3 separate regions of the Homo sapiens genome follow, and all the other regions are linked to region 2. Evidence: promoter capture Hi-C in 16 types of primary human blood cells and fetal thymus (Javierre and others, 2016). All regions are on one chromosome and are shown on one strand. The core of a region is centred on a gene start or on the middle of the fragment in contact, and the rest is flanking DNA. Distances in the headings are between cores, read along the strand shown.

Region 1 (2,796 bases), core at 297-2,796, 180 kb after region 2:
AGGGTCCCCAAATTCTCTGCCAGTTGAGGGAAGCCATCTCCTATTCCACTGATCTGGGTGGCATTAGGAAGGCCTTTTCTATGCTCCTAGATTAGTGACAGCATGCGGTTATTGGGGACAGCATGAGGATGTGCATGCGCTGAGGAGATGCAGCTGAAGCGTCAGGCCTGGGGTGCCAGCACTCTGCAGCCTGCCCCCAAGGGGCTCTGCAAAAACATGGCAAAGATGCGGGGTGTGATGTGCACCTGTGTGTGCTGCGGGTGTGTGCGTGTGTGGTGTTGGCTGTGCGTATGTGGTGTGTATGGCTGTGTGGTGGGTACATGTGTGGGTGTGTGGCGTATGGGAGTGTGTGATGTGTGCATGTGTGTGGTGTGTAATATATGTGTGCATGGTGTGGTGTGTGTGTGGTGTGGCGTATGGGTGTGTGGTGGGTGCATGTGTGTGTGGCGTGTGGCTGTGTGCATGTATGTATGTGGTGTGGTGTGTGCGCTGTCTCTGGAAAATGCCCACCCTGTGTTCCCACCACCCTAACAGGGCCGGGAGGGGCCAGGGTGCTGCCAGGCTCTCTGGGCAGGAAGAGGAGGCCTTGGCCGCGGGCCGGACTTGGGCCTGGTCCGTGAGGCTGTTTTGGTCTCTGGCTTCACAGGCAACAGAGAAGACAGACAAACAGGAAGAAAGCAGCTGCCTTGGGCTGGGCTGGGCTGGGCTGGCCTCGGCTGAGCCAAGCCAGGCCTGGGTGCGGGGGGAGTGGAAAGAGAACTACTGGGATGGGGGCTGGAGGGGGTGTGGGGACAGGGGAAGGAGAGAGGTGTTGGGGGAGGGAGGAGGAGGGCTCAGGTACAGGGAAGGTGCGTCCATACTCATGGTATGTTCAAGAACATGAGCGAGCGTCTCTGTGTTGTGTGTTTGTGGCTGTGTGGCTGTATCATGTGAGGTTGTGTGTGGTGGGAGGGAGCCCGTGAGCACACGGAGGTCCCCAGCCCCTCTTCCTAGGACAGGTAGTTGCAGGTGGGGCAGGAGGAAGAGGGTGGGGGTGTCCCTGGATCTCACAGGGGTTCGTGAAGCCTGGCTTGGCCCCTGCCCCACTCCTCCCTTTCCTGTCCCTCGTCTCCGGCCAACTGGGCCCTAACTGGGGAGGAGGAGGGGCCTGCGTGGGCCTGGGAGGGGCCCAGCGAAAGTGTTTTCACCCCTTCCTTGCCTGGGCCCAGCGAGGAGCAGGAGGACCCCAACTTGGGAAGGGGGCGTGAAGCTCCCATGAAAAAGCAGCGCAGTCCTGGGCCAGACCCACCGCTCTCTGGCCTCAGTTTCCCCACTTATAAAATGGGAATGCTGAACTAAGTGACCTCCCAGAGCACTGCCAACCCAGACAATCCAACCAGGGGGGCGTGGTAGGGTGAGGGTGGGCGTGGAGGCTATGGCAGTGGGAGGAGGGAGTCCTGGGCCGGGACCAGGGAGGCCCTGGGGAAAGGAAGGGAAACAGGAGGCCAGGGGAGGCCTGGGGGAAAGGGGGAGGGGGAGGAAGTCCCCTCCTGGCCAGGTCACTCCCAGAGGCTGGGCTGGGCCAGGGCAGGGCAGCCGATGGAGAGCAGATCTGAGCACCCAGCCACCTTCACGCCACCGCCCAGCTGCCCAGGAGCCCAGCCAGGTAAGGGGCTGCGCCTGCCTGCCCCCCTGCCCAGTCCCCAGCCCTCGGATGGTGGCCTCTCTCGGCCTCGGTTGGGGCAGGGGAGTTCTGCGTGTCTGTCTGGGGTGCCCACTCCCAAACCCGGGACTCATGGGCTGCCTGGGGGATCCTGGGTTCTGTGCATCCGTCTGTCTGACCATCCCTCTCAATCTTCCCTGCCCAGGACTGGCCATACTGCCACCGACACGTGCACACACGCCAACAGGCATCTGCCATGCTGGCATCTCTATAAGGGCTCCAGTCCAGAGACCCTGGGCCATTGAACTTGCTCCTCAGGCAGAGGCTGAGTCCGCACATCACCTCCAGGCCCTCAGAACACCTGCCCCAGCCCCACCATGCTCATGGCGTCCACCACTTCCGGTAAGGCTTGCCCCTCCATGAGTCCGGTGGGCAGAGTGGGTTTGACGATTCAGGGAAGCCCCTCTTTCTAAAGACCTCCTTCACCCTCACCTCTGGGTGTGTCTCTCCAGGCTGCCAATGAGTGGGGAGGGGAGCACAGCCCCACTTCCCCGCCAGGGCTGGGGCTGGGGCTGGGGCTGGGGCTGCCCTTCCTTCTGGACTGCATGAGCCTGGGGTGTGTATCCCTCATAACATGGCTTTCCTGGAGTCCCCTCTGCTAGGAGCCAGGAAGTGGGTGTCCGGATGGGGGCACGGGAGGCAGGCCTGAGTCCCCCTGCACAGCACCCTCTCTAACCAGGCCCTCTTCCCGACTCCTTCCCAGCTGTGCCTGGGCATCCCTCTCTGCCCAGCCTGCCCAGCAACAGCAGCCAGGAGAGGCCACTGGACACCCGGGACCCGCTGCTAGCCCGGGCGGAGCTGGCGCTGCTCTCCATAGTCTTTGTGGCTGTGGCCCTGAGCAATGGCCTGGTGCTGGCGGCCCTAGCTCGGCGGGGCCGGCGGGGCCACTGGGCACCCATACACGTCTTCATTGGCCACTTGTGCCTGGCCGACCTGGCCGTGGCTCTGTTCCAAGTGCTGCCCCAGCTGGCCTGGAAGGCCACCGACCGCTTCCGTGGGCCAGATGCCCTGTGTCGGGCCGTGAAGTATCTGCAGATGGTGGGCATGTATGCCTCCTCCTACATGATCCTGGCCATGACGCTGGACCGCCACCG
Region 2 (2,911 bases), core at 412-2,911:
TCATGCAGCCACTGCGCAATACCAGTGAGACTAGTTAGGAGGACAAGAGTCACCAAATCAGCAACAACGTGACCCAGTGGTGCAAGTCTTCCGAATCCCACGCTACCATCCCAGCACCCCGTGGACCAAGAGTGGGTGGGAGGGCATCATTTCCAGAACTGTAACATAGATCTTCCTGCCTCTCGGGGGCATTCTGAAGACCAGAAGGCAGGGGACACAGGAAAAGGAACTGAGCAAGTCATGACGAAGCAGAACCCTGGGAAGGGTTGGCAATAACAAACACAACCCCTGCCACCCCCACCCCAGACAGGTTCTACCTGTTCCATCGGGTCCCAATTCCAGGGTCCACCAGCTGCACACACCAGTCCCAGGGCTAGGGCACAGGCACCCTCCTGCCTAACTCGCCTGCTTGCTCCATAGGCCATACCTTTTAGGAGAAATGAAGGGAATGCAGAGAAGCAACACAACAAAGACCTCCGCATAGAGGAAGGTGGCAACTGCAGTCCACTGCAGACTCATCCTGTTGCTAGAAGGTTTCCCACAGGAAGATGTGAGCTTGTTTCCTGGCAGGGCACAAAAGGTACGGGACTTGTAAGCGCTGGGCAGCCAAGAACATCCAGTTCAGTTACCCTGCGAGGCTGGGGCCGCCACTCTCCACCCTGACCCCCTGCACTTTGCTTCAAAGTCTCTGATGCGCTGGCGGAAGCAGGGCTCCACTCGGCAGGGCCTCTTGGCCAGCAGCGTTCACAGGCCCCACAAACTTCCGTTCGCTGGTCAATTACCTGCCCCCTCCAGCACGTGTGTCAACACGTCCAGAGCGGCCTCTCCCGACGATCCCTGCCCCAGGAAGCCCGAGATTTCCGACGCCCGTTTAACTGAAAGGCGTTCTTCGGGAAGAGCAGTGCCAGGGCACCAAGAGGAGGACGCCTCGGCACCCATCGGGCGCTCCCTTCCCCGCCAGGCAGAACTCAGCCGCAGAGGCGGGCGCTCTGCGGGCCCAAATCCCCGCTACCAGGCAGGCCCAAGGCCGCACCTAGTCCAAGCGCTGCCGACGCCCCCGCCTCCCACCGTCCCCACGGCGCCCGCGGAGAGAAACCGGCACCTCCCTCGAGGATCCAGCGGCCTTCCGCCCGGGGCCGCTTCGCCTCCGGTGGGCTGGAGGCCCGCAAGAGCGACTCCTAGAGGGCAGGATTCGGGACCAAGCGCAAAGGCAGGTCTCGACCAAGCACCTCAAGGCCCCATACGGAGAAAGTTCTAGACGCAGTATCCTCAGAAGCCAGGGGTCCTTACAGTAGCCCTCGCGGGCCCCAGCGCCCACCCAGAGCGAGGGGCCTCCGACTTGGCCCCGGCCTGGCACACCGTCCCGGAGGCCCATCCCGGCCGCTCCTCCAGGTGGGGCTTCACCGCCCCCCGCCCCGCCCCCGAGACCAGCTTCTAGAGGCGCCGCCCGGTTTCCCCTCGCCCCTGCCTCTCACACGCAGGTAGGCTGCGGGCCCCGAGATTCCCCGGCCCCCGGGCCTCCCCGCGCCGCTCGCCTCTCTCCCTCGTCGATGGGCCGGGGAGCCTCCGCGGTCCCGGAGCCCAGCCCGGCGCGCGGAGCCCGCTCACCGAGTTTCCCACAGTCAACGTGCAGGCCCCGCCGCAGCAACAGAACTCTCCCACAGCAGCCCCGGCCCCGCCCCTCATACCGCGGCCGGAAACCGGAAGCGCCCGCCGGGCACCGCCCACCAGCCCTCGCGAGGCCCCGGAGGCTCCGCCCACCTCCGCTTCCCACCCCGCCCCGGAGCGGAGGGCCGGCGCTCCGAGCGGGAGAGGAAGAGGCGCCTCGGGCTCCGGGCGAGCAGGGCGGGGTGGAGCGAGCACGCGGGCGGGGCGGGGCGGGGCTTTGTCGGGCCGGCGAGGGCCGCTTCTCTAGTCCGCGCGGCCGTCCCACGTCTCTGTGGTGCGGGAGGGGCCCCGCCGAGGGGCGAGAACGGGAGGTGGGGGTGTGGGCGGGCCCCGCCGAGGGGCGAGAACAGGGTGGGGCTCCCGCGCCCGGACTCCGCCCCTCGCCCCTCCTCCGCCTCCTCCCCTTCCCCCGACTCGCCCCTGGGGAAGAGTGGGTGGGGATTCTGGGCCGGTGGAGGAGTCACTGTCGCTTCAGCCAGGCTGCGGAGCGGACGGACGCGCCTGGTGCCCCGGGGAGGGGCGCCACCGGGGGAGGAGGAGGAGGAGAAGGTGGAGAGGAAGAGACGCCCCCTCTGCCCGAGACCTCTCAAGGCCCTGACCTCAGGGGCCAGGGCACTGACAGGACAGGAGAGCCAAGTTCCTCCACTTGGGCTGCCCGAAGAGGCCGCGACCCTGGAGGGCCCTGAGCCCACCGCACCAGGGGCCCCAGCACCACCCCGGGGGCCTAAAGCGACAGTCTCAGGGGCCATCGCAAGGTTTCCAGTTGCCTAGACAACAGGCCCAGGGTCAGAGCAACAATCCTTCCAGCCACCTGCCTCAACTGCTGCCCCAGGCACCAGCCCCAGTCCCTACGCGGCAGCCAGCCCAGGTGACATGCCGGTGCTCTCCAGGCCCCGGCCCTGGCGGGGGAACACGCTGAAGCGCACGGCCGTGCTCCTGGCCCTCGCGGCCTATGGAGCCCACAAAGTCTACCCCTTGGTGCGCCAGTGCCTGGCCCCGGCCAGGGGTCTTCAGGCGCCCGCCGGGGAGCCCACGCAGGAGGCCTCCGGGGTCGCGGCGGCCAAAGCTGGCATGAACCGGGTATTCCTGCAGCGGCTCCTGTGGCTCCTGCGGCTGCTGTTCCCCCGGGTCCTGTGCCGGGAGACGGGGCTGCTGGCCCTGCACTCGGCCGCCTTGGTGAGCCGCACCTTCCTGTCGGTGTATGTGGCCCGCCTGGACGGAAGGCTGGCCCGCTGCATCGTCC
Region 3 (3,032 bases), core at 516-3,015, 160 kb after region 2:
CCCCCCCAACACACACACACAGGGCAGGACTCCCGGGACCTCTCCCGAATGCCCCCCGATCCTGAGGGCCCAGTCAGGGTCCTGTTGGGAGGGGTGCGGGGGCTTCGTCCTCAGCGTGTTGGGGAGGCGCCGCGGAGCACCGGCTCCTGCGCACCCCAGAGCCCAGGTGGGCGGCAGGGTAGGAGGCGAGCCCAGGGGAGACAGGGTCTGGGAGAGGGTATCCCTCGAACTGCCACCCCCAACTCCCAGATTTTCCTCCAGCTCTCTGGTGTCTTATTTCTTTGTCCTCGGGATTGGCCCCATTCGACCTTTCCCGCCGACTCCACTCTCTCCCACTCTCCCCCGCAGCCCTGCACAGGATCGAGAAGGAAGGAGCTCCTCCCCAGTGCCCCCTCCTAGGCTCAAGGCCATGACCTCACAGGCGAGGAAGCAAAATGGAGGGGGTAAGAATTCCGGAGCCGGCGAGCTGGCTGCAGCCTCAGGGCTAGGAAGGCCTAGGGCCCCGATGGCAGATTGCAGATCTGGCGGCCACGGTATTTTTATGGGCATGCCTGTTGCCCAGTGAAGCATTCCAGGGGCCCTCGACTCAGTCTCACAAGACTCCCCAAGTGGTGTGGGGCCCTGGAGGGCCCACATGGGAGCAGCCCTGGCATCCTGGCTTGGATGCCCCACCCCCATAGTGCCAGCTTCAGTTCCCCTGGAATGGGAAGCTTGGGGTGGACCCATCTGTGCTCAGAGAGGGTCTGGATGCCATGTTTGCCCAGCCTTTAGGAGGAGAATGGACAAGACTAGGCACCTGAGTGAAGACGGACGGCTAGGGAGACTGCTTCCAGAGTGGGGGCACTTGCAGGGCATCTTCAGGTGACAGCAGAGGAAACTGAGCCCGCCTGGGTCACGAGGCCAGCAGGCTCATGAGCTGGGCCAAGAGGGCGTACTTTCCATGAGGCACTGAGCTGTGGTCAGCTTCCTGCCTTTGCTGATCTGAACTCTGATAGGCCTCTCTCCTTTCCAGTTGCTGCCTCCACTCACTCCCTACGTTCCCAGCCTTTCCTCCAAGCCCCAACTTCTGCAAATCCTTTACCTAATCTAGGGTTTGATGCCCATCAGGATGGTGAAGTAAGCAGGGAATAGAGCCCGTTTATACGCACCTGCTAATGTGTAGTGATGGGTCCATTTATGGTAACAAAAAATTCATTACTAGGATTACACGACATCACATTTCCTGAGCACAGCCATGGACCTGCCATCGTTACATTTCCTGCACATTTAAATTGCACACCAACCTGGGGAGGTCTGTTGAAGCATTCGCCCCACGTTACAGATGAGAAAACCAAAGCCCACAGAGCTCAAGGCTGGGTCCAGCAAGCACAGTTAGGAAGGTCTCTTTCTCTCCACTGGCTCATTGCATCCACACACACACCCCAGATGATGGTGCTGTTATTATCCTCACTCTCCCAGTGAGGTACCCAAGGTCCAGAGAGGGGCAGTCATGCAACCAGGAAGAAATTGGCACTATCAGTGCCCCCATTTCACAGATGAGGAAACCAAGGTTCAGAGGGGTCAAATGACCCACCCAAGATAGCCCAGAAGGTAAATGGCAGAACTCGGACTTGAATTCCCTTCTGCTTGACCACGATGCCCATTCTCACTTCCATGTAATGAAGTGGAGGAGCCAATGGGAGCAAGAGCAAGAGTGACAGAAGACCAAGGGCAGAGCAAGTCCCAGGAGAAGCAGGAGGGACTGGCCCTGAACAAGAGGCAAGCCACCCCCCCACTGCCATGTGCTTGCTGTTGGAGGTTAGGGGGACACCAAGTAGACAGATGACTGTCTCTTTCCCTTCAACGTCAAGTGCTTCTCACAGCCCTGCTCCCTGTGACCCAGCCCTCATAGACACAGTGGACTGGACAAGGGAAGCCCCAGACTCTGACCCTGTGATGAGCATGCAGAAGACGCAGAAGCCACAGACGACAGTGGGGCAGTAAGGAAGTGCCAGCAGGCAGGCGGGGTGGGCTCAGCCAGACGTGTCTTTCTCTGTTCTCCTTTCAATCTTTCTGTGTCTTCATATCTCAGGTGTAGCGCTTGGAAACAGCACATAGTTGGGTTTTGGTTTGGTTTGATTCTGTCTAACAATTCTTGTCTTTTTAAAAATCAGCTTTGAGACCTGCCTGGGCAACACAGCGAGACCACGTCTCTACAAAAAAAATTTTAAAATTAGGCATGGTGGTGCATGTCTGTAGTCCCAACTACTCAGGAGGCTGAGGTGGGAGGATCGCTGGAGCCCAAGAGGTTGAGGCTACAGTGAGCCATGATCACACCACTACACTCCAGCCTGGGTGACAGAGTGAGACCCTGTCTCAAAAAAAAAAAAAAAAAAATCAACTTTATTGGAGTATAATTTACATACAGTAAAATTCATCCTTTTGAGGTTTACAGTTCAAGGAGTTTTGGTGAATGTTGTGTGCAGCCAACCACTCCCACCACCCCCTGCCCTTGGCCACCACTGATCTGATTTCTGTCTTTTCTAAATTTTATTATAAATGGAATCATACCGTATATATTCTTTTGTCTGGCTTCTTTCACACTCACGCAGCATACTTTTTGAGCTTCATCCATGTTGGTGTGTGTGTTTGTGTGTGTGTGTGAGAGAGAGAGAGAGAGAGCATGCGGGCGAGAGAGAGCAGTATATTTCCTTTTGATTGCCGAGTAGTATTCCATTGTTTGGTTGGATCAGGGTTTGTTCAGCCATTCACTCACTGAAGGACACTTGGGTAGTTTCCAGCTTTGTGTGATTATGATGGAGCAGCTCTAAACATTTATATGCAAGCTTGTGTAAATGTGTGTCTTCATTTCTCTAAGGTAACCGCTTAGGAGTGGATTGTTCAGTCAAGTGGTAGATTGATGTTGAACCTGCCTTTGTCTTTGAACTGTGCAGGTCAGCTGGTCACACGGTGATGACTGCTGCTATCTCTGGATGTAGTCACGCCAGGTGAGTATTTGCTTTCTATTTGTCCTGCTTTCCCCATCTCTCTCC

What was found. Contacts are between HindIII fragments. The CHiCAGO score rates a contact against its expected background, and 5 or more counts as called.
Region 1: a contact is called between the fragment with the promoter of AVPR2 here and the fragment with the promoter of BCAP31 in region 2, in 15 of 17 cell types (non-activated CD4 T cells, M1 macrophages, naive B cells and 12 more). The highest score is 10.6, in non-activated CD4 T cells.
Region 3: a contact is called between a fragment that was not itself captured here and the fragment with the promoter of BCAP31 in region 2, in 3 of 17 cell types (total B cells, activated CD4 T cells and M1 macrophages). The highest score is 5.2, in total B cells.

What each region holds. Positions count from the first base shown.
Region 1 is chrX:153,903,127-153,905,922 of GRCh38, forward strand. AVPR2 (arginine vasopressin receptor 2) reads left to right here and starts at 1,547. Exons shown (of 4, transcript NM_000054.7): 1 at 1,547-1,645; 2 at 1,848-2,044; 3 at 2,406-2,796. The coding sequence starts at 2,020. The HindIII fragment of the contact is 5,945 bases long and covers 1-2,796 here.
Region 2 is chrX:153,722,726-153,725,636 of GRCh38, forward strand. BCAP31 (B cell receptor associated protein 31) reads right to left here and starts at 1,662. Exons shown (of 8, transcript NM_001256447.2): 1 at 1,609-1,662; 2 at 428-563. The coding sequence starts at 519. It overlaps ABCD1 (ATP binding cassette subfamily D member 1), which reads left to right and starts at 2,131. Exons shown (of 10, transcript NM_000033.4): 1 at 2,131-2,911. The coding sequence starts at 2,542. RefSeq lists silencers at 941-1,120, 1,331-2,290 and an enhancer at 2,751-2,911. The HindIII fragment of the contact is 9,880 bases long and covers 1-2,911 here.
Region 3 is chrX:153,886,615-153,889,646 of GRCh38, forward strand. It overlaps L1CAM-AS1 (L1CAM antisense RNA 1), which reads left to right. Exons shown (of 7, transcript NR_130768.1): 6 at 349-443; 7 at 1,883-2,376. Among named protein-coding and RNA genes, the nearest start is that of L1CAM, 2.0 kb to the left of the region's middle. The HindIII fragment of the contact is 2,115 bases long and covers 709-2,823 here.